Linked DNA regions of Homo sapiens: region 2 is linked to region 1. Evidence: promoter capture Hi-C in human tissues and cell types (Jung and others, 2019). All regions are on one chromosome and are shown on one strand. The core of a region is centred on a gene start or on the middle of the fragment in contact, and the rest is flanking DNA. Distances in the headings are between cores, read along the strand shown.

Region 1 (3,351 bases), core at 240-2,739:
CTGGGTGTGGTGGTGTGTGTCTGTAGTCCCAGCTACTCAGGAGGCTGAGGCAGGAGAATCGCTTGAACCCGGGAAGCGGAGGTTGCAGCGAGCTGAGATCAAGCCACTGCCCTCCAGCCTGGGCGACACAGCAATACTCTCTAAAAAAAATAATAATAATTCAGAACATCCCCAGGTAACCACAGGCAGCATTTCTCAACAGTCTCTCCTGCAGAACCAGAAACCCAGACTGTCTGAGCCTGATTGTCCTGAGAGGTTCTGGAAGGGCAGGGGCGTGTGGTGACACTGGGTGCTCCTGGGTTCCAGTACCTCTCTAGCCAGTTGGAAGAATATAGGCAAGTCAAGTCCTTCCTCCTCCCTGAGCCTCTAATTCCTCACCGGTAAAGTAGGGATGATAAAAATAAATTATTAAATTGTTGTGAGGTTTCAATGAGGGCAAAGCTTGCTGCCTGAAACAGAGCAAGCTCTTGTGGCGTCTTAGCTATTTGTATTAGTTACTTGTATTTTTCTCTGCGGTTTCCCTTTTAACTCCCACCTCCTTTTTATTTTAAAAAGACTCCTTTTGAAAATGCCAGCCTGCCTCAGTAGTACCAGGAGACACCAGGGAAAGGCTTCCTTCTTTCCAAGCTGAGGCTGAGAAGGAATGGGAAGAACGAAGAGAAGCACCTTTGTGGAGGCCTCCTCCAGCTGGCCCTGGGTTTAGGAACATCACACACTCAACCTCCAAAGGCCCTCAGGGGCTGGCCCAAGGTCACACAGCTTGACAGTGCGGAGCACTTCGAAGCCAGGGCGTGTGGTGTAGAACAGGCTGGGTGCCTGAATTCAATCAGCCCTCTCTACTTCTCTACTCAGAGCCTCCCAGGCTGTGGGGTGTTCACCTGTGCACCTTCAAGCCGATCACTTCCTTGGGGTCCTCGTCAATTCAATTCCATGGAAATATTACAAGGGGTAGACAGAGATGAGCCGTGTCAGTGTCTGTACTAGCAGAGGGCAGGACCACTGAGCGTCCGGAGGGGAGACGAGTGTCTGGGTGTCCCTGGGAACCTGGCTTGTCTCGACCCCTCTGGGGGGCTCCTCTTGGCTCTGACCTCCATTCTCCCAGACTCACCCCCACTCATGCCCACCCACCCCGAGGGGCCCCCCAGTGTGCACTCACACACTCACACTCAAACTCACCACCCCACTTGCTCTCTAATTACCAGGAACGTGGCGCTGTCTCAGGTTCTTCCTCCCCTGCATTCCTCAGCAGCTGCCCTCACTGGGCAGGGCAAATTATACCGTGGCCCGACCATAAAAGCCACTTTCCAAAAAAAGAAGCTTTAAGGCCCCCGAGAGACGCAGCTGAGCCTCTCACCTGGCAGTGCCTGACTCAGGAGGTGATGTCTGGGCCATGAGCCACAGAGCCTGGTGTCCCTTTAAGCAGGGAGTACAAATTCTCATCCCTCCCTCCTGCTCTCCCTGACGTCAGCTGGAAGGCGTGTGAGTGAGTGAGGGGCTGAGGTACCGCCCGCGCGAGCACACACAGACACACACACACACACACACACACACACACACACACATCTTCCAGACCCATCCCCTGCCTGCCAGCTCCACGAGCCAGAGAGAGACAGAGCGCGGACGCCGCAGGAGGCAGTGCCTGGACCCCAGCTGCCCAGGAGAGGTGAGGGGCTAGATGGGGCCTGAGGACACTGTGCCAGAAACTGTGGCTTTGGCCAGGCCGAAGGAGAGAGGTACAACGTGAAGGTGGGGGCTGGATCAGCCCAGTTCAGCTTACAGATAGGGTGTTGGGGGTATAGAGGATACCACCTGTCTCTCCCTCCCTCATTCTCTCCCCGTGACCCCCAAATGAGGTGAGGCCGTGTGGCTCCCGTGGGAGCATGTCTGTGTCTGTGTCTGTGTCTGTGTCTGGGACCTGCGTCTGGCTCAGGAGGCAGAGAGCAGCAGATACCTGCCAAGCCGCAGCCTCCTGTCTGGGAAGCAGCGGGAGAGAGGACCGCCTTGACCAGAGAAACCCCAGTGCCGCTTCCAGTTGCTGAAAGCAGAGTGCAGCAGGGACCCTTGCTGGTCCTTCCCCTGGAATGTTGGGCTGGGAAGGGACCGGCTGGGAAAGGCAGACAGTTGGACCTGGAGCAGCTGTCTTATCCTGACTCTATTTTTTCCCCAGTGTGATGGGGATAATTGTGTTAGTTGGCTTAGAGAGGTGGCTCCGTGTGGTTATTCTCTTCCCCCAGGTACCACCCCACCCCGAGCCCTTGCTTCTTGCCTGCCTGCTGGTCTGCTCTGACCTCCACCCTTGCCAGGGCACAGCCCCCGGAGGGCAGGGGTGATAAGTCAGGGCCTGCCAGGCCTCTATCTTGGGATACAGGGACTTAGGGTGGCCTTGGCTGGTGCCAAGCCCATGAATGGCCTGACCCTGGCACAAGGAGTCCAGGCGGAGATAAGGGGCGACGCTGGCACCCACAAGGAGACAGCAGGTTCCTGCCAAGCTGCCAGCCTGCAGGCTCTTCCCAGGGAGAGGGGAGGGGGACACAGAGCGAGAACAATAATAAATACAGAGTGTGAACTGCTGCATCCACTGGGGCTGGGGTAGGAGAGGAGGAAGTATGCCCAGTGGGGGGTGGGCAACCTCTCTGAGAGCCTGGCATCATGCTGCCTGGCTGTGATCCGGCAGGGGCCTCTCCCTGGGAAAGGGGGTCTCCAGCTTTCTGGGGGATGGGGAACTGGTTTCCCAAACCTGACTCCATCCCAGAGTCCTCTGGACCCTCCAAATTCTGAATGTTTCCTCCTCCCAGCTTTGCCCTGCCGCCCCCCATTTCCTTGAAGTCTTCTCCAAAAATGTCTGTTTTCTGTGTCTGCCCATCTTGACCCATCCTCACCCCCTTCAAAAAAAAAAAAAAAGACAGGTATAGACAGGAACTGCCTGCCCGTGTCCTGGGAAAGGCCAGAGGACAGTTTTGGCCACAGATGGCTCTCCCAGGCTTGGAGAGACATGGCTAGGCAATGTTCACGGATGCGCAGGGGGATTCCCTGAGGGGGACTTGGGGACACTCTCAGATGGCTGGTGGGGAGGGGACACCTGCCAGCCAGTCTGGAGTAGAGCCCCCTAGGGGGTAGAGGGCGCTCAGGACCTGGCTGAGCCAGTCATGTCCACGGTCACAACTGGGGCAGCCAGGACCCAGAGCCTTGTAGGAATGGGGCTTGGGGCAGTTCAGACCTTTGTCCATGCTGAGCAGCAAAATGGGAGGCTAAAAGTAGTAGGGAGCTCTTCTGCCCCACAGCCAGCAAAATGACACTCCTGGGCTGGGGGGCTGGCATGGCACACCAGAAAGCTGTGGGGTCACACTGATT
Region 2 (2,968 bases), core at 20-2,519, 99 kb after region 1:
CTGCAATGAGCCGAGATTGCACCACTGCACTCCAGCCTGGTGACAGAGCGAGACGCTGTCTCAAAAAACAAAACAAAAACAAAAAATCAATAAATAATTTAAGAGGAAATAAGTGGTGGATTTGGGTTTAGAATCCAGCGACTCGCAGCCGGGCGTAGTGGCTTACGTCTGCCTCCTAGGTTCAAGCTATTCTCGTGTCTCAGACTCCCGAGCAGTTGGTCCCCGCCCGGCTAATTTTTGTATTTTTAGTAGAGACGGGATTTCGCCATGATGGCCCGGCTGGTCTCAGAATGATCTATTTTAGACAAAATAGCCCCAGTGTTAAAAGCAGAAGAGTTATTGGACCATTGTTACTGTGGTGCCTGCTTAGCTGTGTCTGGCGAAAGAGAAACGTTTTGAGCTAAACAGCCCATCTCCTCCTTTCAGGCCTTAGGCAAATTCAGAAGTCGGTGGCCTAGTGCCTAGCAAGGTAGTTTAGGACACAGGTGCCTGCCACCAAGCCCGGTTAATTTTTTTGTATTTTTAGTAGAGACGGGGTTTCACTGGGTTAGGATGGTCTCGATCTCCTGACCTTGTGATCCGCCCGCCTTGGCCTCCCAAAGTGCTGGGATTACAAGCAGGAGGCGCTGCGCACGGCCTATTTTGTGTTTTTATTAGTGATTGGGTTTCACCATGTTGGCCAGGCTGGTGTCAAATTCCTGACCTCAAGTGATCCACCTGTCTCGGCCTCCCAAAGTTCTGGGATTATAGGCATAAGCCACCATGCTCACTACTTTTATTTTTATTTTTAGTACTGAGCATAGGCTGGACCTCAGTACATTCATTCATTCATTTGAGACAGGTTCTCACTCTTGTCACCCAGACTGAAGTGCAGTGGTGGGATCTCGGCTCACTGAAACCTTTGGCTCCCAGGCTCAAGCAGTTCTCCTGCCTCAGCCTTCCGAGTAGCTGGGATTACAGGCACCCGCCACCATGCCTGGCTGATTTTTGTATTTTTTGGTAGAGATGGGGGTTCACCATATTGGCCAGGCTCATCTTGAACTCCTGACCTTAGGTGATCCACCCGCCTCGGCCTCCCAAAGTGCTGGGATTACAGGCAAGAGCCACTGCACCCAGCTTCTCTGTACTTTTAAAACTCTACAGATGATTCCCAGATTGGGAGCCAGTGCTCTTGCAGAGGTTCCCATGATGTGGACCAGGGGACTTCTGATGCAGCAGGAGCACAGTTTGGCTCCAGCATTGTGCCATCTAGGTACACCAGCAAGAGCTCCCCTCCATGCTTGGCAAATACGGGCATGTGAGCTGCCCATCTCATCACCCTTGCCCTTGATGTGACACAGCTCATGTCAGAAGCTTGATTTAACAATATAGTTGTAAGCTAACAAAAAAGGAAACAAAAGTATGATCTTTCCTCCAAAGTTGCCTTTTCCTGTCATACTTGCTCCCCCTGTTTCAGCCAGTCATCTCCCCATCCCACTCCTATTCTTCTTACATTCTGGTTTCCAGCTCTGTGATTTCAGTTAAATAATAAATCCTATTCTATCAGTAAGTCCTGCCAGTTCTGTCACTTCTCATGTTTATGGGTCCTCCCACCCACACCCCACTTCACCTGTCTTATCTTACCCTCTTTCAGTTCACCCTCCATGCAGCTATCAGGGGATTCTTTGGATAAGGCCTAATTCCTTGGCAGGCATCCCAGCTTCCATGACCTCATCATACCCATCTTTCTCACCTCTCTGCTGGCCCTGTCCTCCTTAACACCCTACCTTCCAGCTATATGTCACCTGCTATTTCTCTCCCAGTGCCTTCTGCTTCTTATCTTTCACCACCCCTCCTGTGTTCCAGTGTGCCTGTACAGTCGCTTCTTGCATGGTGTTGCCCAACTCCACTGCATCGTTTTTATCCACCTCCTCTCTCTCACTGGGCTGTAAGCTCACCGCAGGCATGAGCACTTGTTTGAATTCCCAGAATCTAGCTTAGTATCTCCACTGTACCACTGCCCTTTGGGAAAGTCATGTAATCTCTCTCCTTTTCTCCTCTGTAAAACTGGGGACAAATCAAGAGGCTGAGGCAGGAGAATCGCTTGAACCAGGGAGTCGGAGGTTGCAGTGAGCCAAGATCGCGCCACTGCACTCCAGCCTGGCAACAGAGCAAGACTCCATCTCAAAAAAAAATCTAAAAAAAAAAAAACTGGGGACAAATTTACCTATCCTATAGGTTGTTAGAAGGAGTAAATAGAGTAAGTTTAAAGCATTTACAACAGTGCCTGGCGGTAGTATGTGTAATTACAGTAAATGCAGGTGTTGGAAGGTACTTGGTAAATGCTGGAAAGACATTTCCCTAGACCCCTCCCACCTTAGCAGTTAGGTGCTCTCTCTTCTGGTTCTCAGAGAGTTCTGGAAGTGGACAGCAAGCTGGGGCTCGTGACTCACCAGGCCACTCTTCTGTGTTTTGATTTTCTAGTGCCCAAGGTTGAAGCAATGAATAAAAGACTGGGCTCCTTGGTGGATGAGTTTAAGGAGCTTGTTTACCCACCAGATTACAATCCTGAAGGGAAAGTTACCAAGAGAAAACACGGTGAGAAGCTGAATGTGGACATGTGGGCTATTTTTAAAAATTGCTTTTATGATAGTCTTATCACAGTGGGCAATATCCTTTCAGAAATATCTATTCACAGTCTAGTTAAAATGGCTTTTATCCAAAAAACAGACAATAACAAATGCTGGCAAAGATGTGGAGAAAAGGGAACCCTCATACACTGTTGGTGGGAATGTAAATTAGTACAGCCACTATTATGGAGAATAGTTGGGAGTTTCCTCAAAAAGTGAAAACTAGAGCTACCATATGATCCAGCATACCATATGATCCAGTCAGTATATACCCAAAAGAAAGGAGATCAATATATCAAAGAGATATGTGCACTCCCATGTTTATTGCAGCACCATTCACAATAGCCAAGATCTGGAAG

What was found. Contacts are between HindIII fragments. The study calls those that stand out against the background at their distance.
Region 2: a contact is called between a fragment that was not itself captured here and the fragment with the promoter of CSDC2 in region 1, in 4 of the 25 tissues and cell types used here (IMR-90 fibroblasts, dorsolateral prefrontal cortex, mesenchymal stem cells and 1 more).

What each region holds. Positions count from the first base shown.
Region 1 is chr22:41,559,521-41,562,871 of GRCh38, forward strand. CSDC2 (cold shock domain containing C2) reads left to right here and starts at 1,490. Exons shown (of 4, transcript NM_014460.4): 1 at 1,490-1,663. LOC105373044 (a long non-coding RNA gene) reads right to left here and starts at 1,363. Exons shown (of 2, transcript NR_134631.1): 1 at 1,200-1,363. The HindIII fragment of the contact is 6,219 bases long and covers 1-2,657 here.
Region 2 is chr22:41,658,868-41,661,835 of GRCh38, forward strand. It overlaps XRCC6 (X-ray repair cross complementing 6), which reads left to right. Exons shown (of 13, transcript NM_001469.5): 12 at 2,464-2,577. Among named protein-coding and RNA genes, the nearest start is that of SNU13, 29 kb to the right of the region's middle. The HindIII fragment of the contact is 4,770 bases long and covers 1-2,968 here.